Regions from separate parts of the Homo sapiens genome. Here all the other regions are linked to region 3. The links are contacts of gene promoters, found by promoter capture Hi-C in human tissues and cell types (Jung and others, 2019). All regions are on one chromosome and are shown on one strand. The core of a region is centred on a gene start or on the middle of the fragment in contact, and the rest is flanking DNA. Distances in the headings are between cores, read along the strand shown. Region 1 overlaps EXOC4 (exocyst complex component 4). Region 2 has its middle 45 kb from the start of SLC35B4. Region 3 holds the start of LRGUK (leucine rich repeats and guanylate kinase domain containing).

Evidence for each region. Contacts are between HindIII fragments. The study calls those that stand out against the background at their distance.
Region 1: a fragment that was not itself captured here is called in contact with the fragment with the promoter of LRGUK in region 3 in 2 of the 25 tissues and cell types used here (H1 embryonic stem cells and dorsolateral prefrontal cortex).
Region 2: a fragment that was not itself captured here is called in contact with the fragment with the promoter of LRGUK in region 3 in 1 of the 25 tissues and cell types used here (H1 embryonic stem cells).

The regions. Positions count from the first base shown.
Region 1 is chr7:133,977,095-133,981,939 of GRCh38, reverse strand. All of the region lies in intron 14 of EXOC4 (exocyst complex component 4), which reads right to left. Among named protein-coding and RNA genes, the nearest start is that of LRGUK, 150 kb to the left of the region's middle. The HindIII fragment of the contact is 5,052 bases long and covers 1,027-4,845 here.
Region 2 is chr7:134,359,927-134,364,609 of GRCh38, reverse strand. No RefSeq gene overlaps it. Among named protein-coding and RNA genes, the nearest start is that of SLC35B4, 45 kb to the right of the region's middle. The HindIII fragment of the contact is 4,550 bases long and covers 901-4,683 here.
Region 3 is chr7:134,126,021-134,128,589 of GRCh38, reverse strand. It overlaps LRGUK (leucine rich repeats and guanylate kinase domain containing), which reads right to left and starts at 1,250. Exons shown (of 20, transcript NM_144648.3): 1 at 926-1,250. The coding sequence starts at 1,222. RefSeq lists enhancers at 968-1,237, 1,348-1,397. The HindIII fragment of the contact is 8,230 bases long and covers 1-2,569 here.

The DNA of each region.
Region 1 (4,845 bases), core at 2,303-4,802, 150 kb after region 3:
ATCTTGTTCTTCTTTATGGCTGCATGGTCTACCATGGTATATATGGACCACATTTTCTTTATCCAATCTGCCATTGATGGGCATTTAGGTTGATTCCATGTCTTTGCTATTGTGAACAGTGCTGCAGTCAACATTTGCATACATATATATGTCTTTATAGTAGAACTATTTATATTCCTTTGGGCATATACCCAGTAATGGGATTGCTGGGTAGAACGGTAGTTCTGTTTTTAGCCCTTTGAGGAATCGCCACCTGTTTTTCACAATGGTTGAACTAATTTACACTCCCACCAAGAGGGTATAAATGTTCCCTTTTTTCCACAACCTTACCAGCATTTGTTATTTTTCTGACTTTTTAATAATAGCTATTCTGACTGGTGTGAGATGGTATCTCATTGTGGTTTTCATTTGCATTGCTCTAAAGATCACTGACTTTTAGCTTTTTTTTCTTGTTGCCTGCATGTATGTCTTCTTTAAAAAAATATCTGTTCATGTCCTTTGCCCACTTTTTTATGGGGTTGTATTTTCTTGTAAATTAAAAACCCAGTATTTTTCACTCCATCTACAGTTTTATGTGGGCACTGAAACAATGACACTAGCTTTATACATTTGATCGCAAAATCTGAGAGCCATCGAGACTGCAGAGGAAAATAGGCAGAATCTTAGAAGCCATGGCCACTCTGACTGCCATGTGGATAACATCTGGACAACTGATTTATCTGGAAGAAGAAGCTGACCCTGCCACCAAGTACATAGATCATCACCATGAGTAGCTGTGTAATTGGTGGGGGCTCCTCTGAAGCATGTTAGAAGTAAAAAACAGAGAATTAACTAGTTGACACATGGTACAGACTTTGCAGGTGTAAATCTTGCTAAGACAATTTCTACTCAGTGAGGACAAGTGTGGCCACCTCTCAGCATGGGGTGAAGATAATAGTTAAGTACCTCCCCTTTAATCTGTCTGGTGTCAGACAGTCCCTGTGCAGGCTGATTGATGAGGTGGTGTGATACACATATTGACTAATGCTTTGTGAAGGTTAATAATATATGACTATATTTCTGTCTTTATACGTTAGTAACACATGAATACTATTCACACATCCATTCCAGTTTTGCCACATAATCCCTAGAATAATTAACAGTTCATATAGATGCTTCCAGAATCAATTTTTAAAAAGTAAAAGATTAATAATCAATCTGTGTTTATGCCAGTTGAGAGTAAGCTACATGGAGAAGCAATCATCTCTATCAGTTGACTACACAATTTCAGGATATTACTTCAAAATCTAAATATTTTTCGCTAAGTAAAAGGATATGAGTATTCTCCTATTAACTAAGAACCAAATTCTTACATACAACACTTCTTTTGGATTGACAACCATTTCTTTTTGATTGGCCCAGAAAGTAGTAGTTACATTATGATTCAACCACTTACTAACTGGATAACCTTGGGGAAATCGTTAAACCTGTTTATTGAAGTGACTACATTTTCAGCCTCAAAGGGTCATTGTAAGGATTCAATGATATAAAACACATGAAGCATTTAGAACAACCTTCGGCACACAGTAAGTGCTCAGCACATTGAAGTGATCTTTATTGAACCCCCTGGTGAGGATCCTGGAAGAGTGAGATTCCTAGACTCATCCTCTCACTCCTCGAAAAACCTTGCAAGAAATCTGACAGCTGTGGGCCTAGTTGTTCATGTGGCTAATGGCCAGAAAGAAAATGATACATTAATCCATTAAACATACACACTGGGTAAGATCATGACATTTTGAACTTAAAATAAGGCATCATAGAAGTATGAGAACAGCACAGGATTCTGGCAATGTTTAAATTAGTGAAAATACGCAGGAGAGAAAAGGGATTAAGGCAGAGGGCAGGTTCAAATTTTATCTTTTCATACATAAAAAGGGGAGAATGCCTTTCTCCAGTCGCCAGTTCAGTGGTAGAGATGGCCTTCAGGCATGAGGTAGGTGGTAGATTGGTAGGAAAGCCAGGAATGATGTTGAGGAGCAGCGTGGGAGGAGATAAATCAGTGTTTTTAACATTATTTTGAAGAATGACAGGCATCTCCCTTTCCAAGGAAAGGATGTCTGCCAAGCTAGGTTCTTTAACGAAGGCAATTTAGGGTTTTTTTTTCTTTTTTTTTGAGATGGAGTCTCGCTCTGTCGCCCAGGCTGGAGTGCAGTGGTGCGATCTCGGCTCACTGCAAGCTCCGCCTCCCAGGTTCACGCCATTCTCCTGCCTCAGCCTCCCGAGTAGCTGGGACTACAGGCGCCCGCCACCATGCCCGGCTAATTTTTTTGTATTTTTGGTAGAGACAGGGTTTTGCCATGTTAGCCAGGATGATCTCGATCTCTTGACCTTGTGATCCACCTGCCTGGGCCTCCCAAAGTGCTGGGATTACAGGCGTGAGCCACCGCACCCAGCCGCAACTTAGGGGTTATTTTAGGAATTCAAAGAATATTCACCAAAGCCTGTAAATTGTTCATGTGATTGAGAGATCATGTCTGCCTTACTCAAACAGGGCCTGGAGTCAGCATTTATTTCCTGACCGCCGTTTATTTCCTTTCTACCAAAGAGGCACTATGAGAAGGGAAGAAGATTACTTGAGTGTAATCACACTCAAGTGTGATTACCTTTACCTGGTGGTAAAGGTAAGACAGTAATGATTCTGAATCTAAACAGCCATTATGATACCTATGAAGTTTTGACCTCAAATGATAGAAATTGTGTTATATTCACCTGAAGAGACAGAAATTGGATTATAAATTATTTTAATATATACATAAAAACACTGACAAATCAGGTTTTCCACTAAGGCTTAAAACAGCTGAATCAGGATTATTTTGGAAAGATGCTTTTTATATTTACTACCACAGGAGACTTGTTATTTTATCTGCTTTCTTGGAAATACGTTCACCTTCCTATTACTCTAGACTAAATTTACTGTACAGAGTGAAATGGGAACATACCCTTGTGCTTTGTCTGTTGTCAACTCAGTGTCACCTCTAGCCACTTTCCTGGAAGCATAGGAACATCTACAACTTCTTGCCAGTAGGGGTTTTGGGTTTGGATTCTGCCATTGAGATGTACTCCCAAAAGCTGTGTAAGGCAAAAAGAAAGGGAAGGCAGGATTCTCTTCTTACAGTGGCAGAAAGATGCTCAGGCAGCTGGCAAATCAGAAGCTTGCAGCAGCTTCCAGAAGAGCTCCTGCAGACAGCTGCTTCCTCGCAGCAGGAAGGTGAAATCCCCGGCTGCATTTCCTGATTATCCTGAAAGGCAGCAGCTAGATTCCTTGCTTTTTGTATCCTTCCAACGGCTGTCTAAGCCCTTTCAGCAATTTCTAAAACATCGTATTCCCTACATTAAATTCCTTCTTGCTTGAAATACCTAAAATGGTTTCTGTTCTCCCAACTGAGCCTTGATGAATGAATGTAACCTTCTACTCCTGAGACATTTTTGAACTATGGCACTTTAAATCTCAGAGAAGACTGGACCAGGAAGTAGTGAGATGAAGGGTCACCAAGGATCTCTGGGCTACCTTTAATGCAATGCTGCAACCTCTAAGGCAAGGATTTTTGGAAAGTGCCCTGCAGAGTTCCTAATCTCTGTTAAAAGACCAAATTACAACAAACGTAGATCTCAACTGGCTTTTATTTGTGATTCTAGAATAGTGCAGCAGCCCAGACCAAAAATGGTTCAGAATGCTCTGCTCTACCACATGTGTAGATTATATTTATAGCCAGAGAAAAGGAAGTGACATGTAACGGGAGGGATGTACAAAGGATGCATACTTGGTTAAAGCTCAGTGTTTGCCTCATTTGAACCTGGGTTGAAGAGTTGGCTGCCTATCACTGACTGAAGCTTGGCTGCTGTGACTGGCTGAGACTCAGCTACCTGTTACAAGAGTAAGTTCTAGTCTGTTTGCACATCAAGTTAGGTTACAGTTCACTATGTACAAAGAAACCTTTTGGTCAAACTTAAAACATGTACAGAGGCAGCTTTGGGCCAAACTTAATTCAATTTAACATTTTTCAGTCTCCATTCTCTCCATCTTGCCTTCCCTGCTTCCTTAGTCAGAGAGGCTCCACTTTGATTTGTTACCCAATTCAGACTTTACAGTAAAATTCTGCTAGAAGAAAGGGTTCTGCTGCTAAAACAAACAAACACACACACACACACACACACACACACAAAACAACAAAACCAACTCAAACAAAAAACCACACACACAAAAACAAACAAATAAACCACAACAACAAAACAAACCAACCCAAAGCAAAGAAAAAACCAGCTGCTCGCAAACCACTATCTTTGAAAAGGAAAGATTTGGTCACAGCAAACAAGTTCCTACTGCACTCCACTCTCTAGCTGTGAGCCAAGGCAGGGATAGAAGTCAAACATTCAAATTATGGCACCGTTCCTATAGGCTGAGGACGAGTGGGAGGACAATCTATATAAATAATATTTATTTGGAAGCAAGTGATTTGCTTTCTCCTTTCTCTTCATTATTTTTGCTACATAAACTCTAGTATCTTTTTTTTTGGATTTAGTGAATACTGAACACATTATGAATTGCTCTTATTCTCAATAACACACACAAGATGCCCTTGCAAAGAAGATTCAACATTCCTTTCAGAAAATGTTTCACAGGACTATTTTACTTTTTAACTTTTTAGAAAAGTATGCCATGGGTTTCTCTACTATTTTCTAGAATCCCAGGTTAAAGATGTAGACCCCACCAAAACAGACTTCTTAGCAAGGTCACTCAATTTGGAGCTGCTTTCAATTATTCTGTAAAAGCTTCAGCTTAAGACTGAATGTATCTTCCAAACAAAG
Region 2 (4,683 bases), core at 1,926-4,425, 230 kb before region 3:
AGGGAAAAGAAAAAGTGGAGCACAGAAATGAAAGAAAGGATAAAAGGAAAAGAAAGGGAAGGAGAGGTGTTCTGGAAGTGCCTACCTGGTTCAGAAGGAGACAGCTGAAATCAAGCCAATGGAGGTATGTCTGTGTGCCACGCCCACTGACCCCCATGCCCAATCTCAGGCTTAACATCTCCATTATGCACATGGCTGCCTGGAGCAGTAATAGGATAATCTGTAAATCACATAATATGGATTTACTTTCTTAATTGTATTTTTATGCTATTAAAATGAATTTAGTCTTGGCCTTATTAAACAACAAGGGACCATTACAGATTCCTAGGAGAGAGGACAATTTGAACACAGCAGCTTCTATTTTCTATCAACCAGAATCATGGCAAGAAACAGACACATTCCAAAGGGATGTTCAAAGACAATTCATTACAGGGACTATGTACAGTGGTGTGGGCAGAGTATAGGGAGCCAGCAAGGGATGGAGCAGGACCTCAGAACTAGCAACGGTGGGAGCCATTATTGCCTGAGACCTGAAGCGGTTCCTAAAACCTAGATGGAGATCTAGCTCTAGCTCCAGGGGACAGACAGGTCTGGCCAGAAGCTGTGGTCTTGGGTAGAGGAACATGGTATGGCAGGAAGGGATGAACCAGGGAAATAAGCCTGACCTCTTTCCTCTCACCCTCCATTCTCCTGTGGAAACCTCCCACTGGCTGAACCCACCCAGAAGTGAGAGGATGAGAGAACCCCTGGAGGCTGTTCACTCACACCAGCTTCCCAGGGTCAGAGCAGGGCCCAGAAGTGAGGCACTGGGTCTCCAGGGGCAAACAGAGAAGATCTAGTCTCTATCTGTGCAGCATATTATGATATCCAGAGAATAGATATTTATCTCTATAGGTAGAGATAGATGCAGGTGTATAGGTTCAGATAGATTTTTTTAAATCTCATTTGATCATCACAATGACCCCGCAGGATTTTCATGTTTTTCAAATGCAGTAAATGGGGTTCTCAGAGGTCAAATCATTGACCCCACTAGAAGAGGTGGCAGAGTGAGGACATCAATCCAGGATTTTGACCCTTACAGACAGCACTCTCTGCCTCTGCCCCTTCTCATACCTGCCTACCACTTCCTTTCTCCTCACCTACCCAGGGTTGACCTGTCCTTCAAGACTAGGTCAAACCTGTATGAATGAAGTAACTCCATCGATCCCATACCTTTTGACTGCCTAGAGCCATTGGTGGTATTCAACACAGCACAACTTAGCAACTATTTATTCACTTATTGACTTTGTATTGTTCTGTGGGTGTTGTCCCTGAATGTCAGAGTCTATTTTCCTGAGACAAGATCAATACAGAGTCTTTTGGATGTCAACTCCCGGCAGCACTTAGCCTATTCTACCCCTCAGATCAATAACTAATTCCCAAATTTGAATAAGCAGCATGAGAAGGGAGATTGGGCCATGTTAGGATGTGTGTATGTGTGTGTGAGCAAACAGTATTGCGTCAGCCAGGGGCTGATGCAAGAAATAGAAGGACTCTAGCTGAAAGTGATTGAAGATAGGGAATCAGGCACCCCTATAATCACTGGGCAAGCAGAAGCAAAGCGGTCACCTTTGGATGATTGGTTTCTAGATCAAATTACCCTAGCTGTGATCCATAACTCAGGGAACTGTTATTACATCACACAATCGTGTGAGGCACCACGCAATTGCCTCACACCACTGAAGTGAGGACCAGACACCTAGACATGGAGTTGAGCCACCACAAACATTCGTCACTGACTGACCTTGCTTCCAACAGCCACAGTGTAGGCAGATGGCCTCTGCCTGCTTCTCTATTGCTCCAGCAAATTCAGCTCAATGGCACCATCTCAACTGTACCAGGATCCCGACTCTAAGAAATATGGGAGGGCAGTTTGGGGCTTCTCCTCTCTTGCAATGTTGAGGGGAGATCAGCAGGAGGTGGAAATGGATCCTGATTGTCAGTAAAGCACATGGCTGCAGACAGATGTGGAACATCTGGTGCTACCGTCCTTCGAAATCAGACAGTGTGGTCGGGGCTGTATATCTAGGAGGTCTGTAGACTTGGTAGGGTTGAGGGAAAATGCTCCTGAGGTATTTTAGATTGAGCATTTCTATTCCATTGGTGAAATTTCACTGTGGGCTTCAAGATCAGCCTTGAAGGGAGGCAGATGTCACAGAAAGACAGCCTGTACCATGAAAAGAGTGTGGTTGATGCCAGTATGGGGAGCATGGATGGGGTGAGGCTGGTGTTGGATTATCAGTAGTTTTAAGGTATAAGAACCTGAGTGTTTTGAGCACCAACTGCTCATTTAAAGCTTCCCCTCTCAAGCCCGCAAACACACACACACACACACACACACATACATGTACACATACACACCCCTTCCATCTTGAGCCTTTCTTGATCAACAGTGCCCCCCTACTGGTACTGCACAAACATTTACTCCAGTCTTCTGTGCCCTGGCAACAAATTAGCTCTATTTGAACTCAACTTTTAGATGATGGAGGGAAGACACTAAACTAAACTGAGATGCTGAGGAAATTGGAACTGGAGCACATAAAGCTTAGCTCCCGGGATCTGGGACAGCCCCTTCCTCTTGATATGCTGAGCTGACTCTAGCTAGTCAGGACTTAGAACAGTGGTCCTCAGCTGGGGGCTGGTATGGCATTTGGCAATGTCTGGAGACACGTTTGATTATCATGACTGGGCAGGTGTGCATCTGGTGTGTAGAGGCCAGTGATGCTGCTAAACATCTTACAGTGCAGGGGTCCTCAGGTACCATGGTACCTAACAGGCTATGGACCAGAACTGGGCCACATAGCAGGAGGTGAGCAGTGGGCGAGGCTGCGAAGCTTCATCTGTATTTGCAGCCACTCCCCATCACTTGCATTACTGCCTGAGCTCCATCTCCTATCAGATCAGCCGTGGCATTAGATTCTCATATTCTCACAGGATCATGAACGCGGTTATGAACTGCACATGCAAGGGATCTAGGCTGCACGCTCCTTATGAGACTCTAATGCCTGATGATCTATCACCGTCTCCCAATCACCCCCGGATGGGACCATCTAGTTGCAGGAAAACAAGCTTAGGGCTCCCACTGATTCTACATTGTGGTGAGTTGTATAATTATTTCATTATACATGACAATGTAATAACAATACAAAGAAAGTGTACAATAAATGCAGTGCGCTTGAATCATCCCAAAACCATCCCGCCCCACTGGTCCACGGAAAAATTGTCTTCCCCAAAACTGATCCCTGGTGCCAAAAAGGTTGGGGACCGCTGCTACAGTGCACAGGACGAGAAAGAAGTACCTGGTCCAAAATGTCAGTAGTTCCACCGTTGAGAAATTCCGCCTTAGAAAAAGATGGTTTCCCCCTGGGGATGATTCTCAGGATGACAGGGTCTCCACTTTCACCGGGACTCAAACCCCCTGCATGGGTCACAGTTCTCCTGAAATCTGAGACACTGAGAAAGAGACAAGGGGGAAAGAATAAAAACCCACAAACCTCACACACTTAGGACAGTTATTAGAAAAACAACAACAGAAAATAAATGTTGGCAAGGATGTAGAGAAATTGAAATCCTCATATATTGCTTGTGAGAATGTAAAATGTTGCAGCCTCTGCAGATGGAAAACACTGTATCCGTTTCTCAAAAAAGTGAGACCTAAAATTACCATATGATCAAGCAGTCCTGTATGGACCCCAAAGAATTGAAAGCAGGGGATCAAATAGATACTTGTACAGCGTTATTCACATTAGCTAAAAGGTGGGAAAAAACCAAATGTCCATTAATAGAAGAATGGATAAACAAAATGTGATATATACAAACAATGGAAGAGGATTCAGCCTCAGTAAGTAATGACATTCTGACACATGCTACAACATGGATGAAACTTGAAGATGTTATGCTAAATGAAATAAGCCAATCACAAACAGACAAATATTGCATGATACCATTCATATGGCATCCTCAGAATAGGCAAACCCTTAAGAGACAGAAAGTACAATGGAGTTTCCCGGGGTTGTGGGGAAGCAGGAATGAGGGGAGTTTCTGCTTAATAGGAGCAGAATTTCAGTTTGAGAAGATGAAAATAGCTCTGGAAATGGATAGTGATGATAACTGCACAGCATTGTGAATGTACCTAATGCTACTAAATTGTATGCTGAAAATGGCTAAAATGGTGAATTTTATGTTATATATATTTTACCACAATAAAGGAAAAAAACCTACAAGCCTGGGGCTCTCAGCTCTCTTAGACCAAACAGCGGCCAAGGTCAGCAGAGGCCCCAGCTCGCCAAGACCCTCTGCCAGTGACCCACACAGGCCCAAAGGTCTGTTTGCCAGGACTATGCCAGGTCACGACATATTAGCTGAGGTTTTGTTGCACGTGGCCTTGATCACCCCAGGCTCAGACTGGATTTACTAGGACCAGAGACAGCTGGCAGCACATGTGGCCACCTCTTTAGCTCACCAAGAAGGCATCATTTAAAAGTCTGAAATGTTCTGGGCAGGAGGGACCTCCTCTGAAGCCCTCTTGGCTTTCTGTGGAAAAAAGATAAGAGAAAGGGGCTGCACCTTGGAGGAGGGATAAGAAGATTGCCAAGTCCTTCTGGCTGTCCCTGCTTATCCGCCATGCCTAGAACCTGCCAGCTG
Region 3 (2,569 bases), core at 1-2,500:
GACAAAGCCAGACTCCATCTCAAAAACATAAACAAAATAGAAAGGAAGCAAATTAAATTACGCTTTTGAAAGAAAGCAATTTATTAGAAGCCAAGAGAAAAGAAGTGATGTGATGAGAAGTGGAAAAGGACAAGAAGACAACAATGGACTAAGAAAGGAAAAGGACCATAATAAGCATAAGAAAGAAGAGGAATTGTGTGGTGGTCAGAAGAGATATTGTAGAAAGGAGGGAATGGCAGTCATGTGAAACGCGAAGCCGCCATCCCAGTCAATATGGGTGGGATGATGGGAACATTCCCCACATCCTAAAATATTCCCACAATGAGCTGGCTGTTCGAACATTATAAGGCTCTTTTCTGGTGTGTGTGCATGTTGCTTGTATAAGGCATATGCCCCCGACAGAAGTAATGTATTCAACTTTTAAGTCACTTAGTCTTTGAAGAAGCACTTTCAAAAGCGGATTTTTTTTTTTTTTTTTTTCCTGGAGGGAGGCTGACGGGACTAGAACTGAGGAAGAGTGTGGAAGTATGTCATAGCCATGGGCAACAGGTGCTGGCAATGTCAGAGATGAACTCTGCCTATTCACAATACTGTCAAAGTATAATTTTGAAAAAGCTAAAGCCATAATTCCCAGACAATTATCTAGACACTCTTACAAAGTGACGCTGTGTTAACTCGACTCATAAGAAATCAAATGTGTTAATGAAAAAAGAAAGGAACTATTTAGAGCTATTTCAGGCAGGGGGTGAGAAAACGGGGTAAAAGACAGGGGAAGAAAAGAGGGGGAAGAGGCGTTCCTGGAGGCGAGAGAGCCTGAGAAGGTGTGGGAAGCTTCGGGCTGGTGGGGGTGCATCGGGGAGCTGCCGCTGAAGTAACAGGGCTGGACGAGGGAGCCAGGGAGTACGGGGTGGGGGGGAAGACACACCTCCAAATTCAGCATTTCGGACTCTGAGGACTCCTCGGATCCCGCCTCGCCCTCGCCCTGGTCCTCATCTCCGTCCGAGTCCAGCTCCTGATAGCGGTGCATGAGCTGCTGGAGCAGGTAGGAGGAGGCTATGTTAGAGCTGCCTTTCGTCTTCTGCCCCATGGGAAAAGACCAGCAAGGCTGACGCTCTTTTTCTGCGCGAAACTGTAACGATCGGGCTCCAGTTCGGGATCTGCCCAAGCCTCTCAGGAGAGAGGCAGCTCTGGTCCTCAGGAGAGCCCTCTCGGAGGTCGCCATCTTGTTTAGCGGGGTTGCCTAGGAGACTGACCCCAGGCAAGGGGAACCGCGGAGGATTCTGGGGCCTGTAGTCTCCTCCGCGCGTACTCGCCTTCTGCAGGCGGGGCAGTGGGCGCTCCACTTGACTTTTCTTTTTCTCAGTCTCTTCTGTTATTTTTCTCTCTTTGGTCTGTTCTGTTCGCTTATCTTTCCTGTTTTCACCTCTTTTCGCTACACCCCCTTTCTTTGTCTCCAGCTGTTTCCTCCCTACCCTGAGACCCCTCTTAGAGCTTTGTCATCCCACGATAGGATCGCAGGTGCGCCACCGTTGCCGCTTCATTCCCAAAGGGCTCTTTCCGCAGAGTCGTACTTTAGAAGTGTCTAATGTCTCTAAAGCAGTCTGTAGGAAAGCTAGTACCACTGAAATTTATGCAAAGCGCGACGCTAGGAGATGAGGGTGCATATAAGTGAAATAGAAGGCATGGTTCCTGTCCTTATGATTTAATTGCAGATAATAAAGAGAAACTACCAGACGACGCCTGAGAGCTGATTTCCAATTAATTTACATTCCCCACCCCCACCCCCCAATGATAAGCCTTGTCCTTGGGGAGAAAAACTGGCAGTGGTCTTACAATCCAAACAGAGAGAGAAAAAACTGCTGTCAAATTGACACTGTATCTGAAAGCGTCTGAAAAGCTATTAGCATCCCATAAATAATTATATTAGTCAAGTGACCTGCATTGGCAATTATTTTAATCTTGTTGCACAGGCTCTCTTTGCAGTTAAAAAAAATACTCTTTCAAGATAACAAAGCACGATTTTATGCTAGTGTGATTTTATGTGACCCAAATCCCATAGCCTTAAGCTCCACAACGTCGACACTCTATAGAAAAGCAGAATGAAAATTATAGTAACTATTATTGCCATAGTGATGACAATAGAGATCCTTGCAGGGAAGTAGCCCTCATCCTTCTGGCCTTACAGGGCCTTTTCTGCACGCTTCAATGACAGCAGTTGCAAATACAAAATGATCCTGTCAATGGCTGTCAGGGGAGAAGGAGAAAAAATCCTTATGGACACCATCCATTGACGATTATCTTTCTCAGTGCTTGAGGGACCGTTAAAACTGACATAAAGCTTTCAGAATTACCTTCCTTCATTATCTTGCTAGTCATAAATGTAAAGGCCACAAGCAAAATATCTCTTTCTGCCAGGCTCATCTTGCTTTTTGCTTATTTCTTTTTCCAATAAGTAGAGATTCCTCCAAGGGAATTTTCCCCACCCTTACCCTCGTAGGGCCTGGCTTCGGCTAAGTGACATAGGGAAGAATCAGGCAGAAAGTGTAAAAATGCAAATCTCGATCGTTTT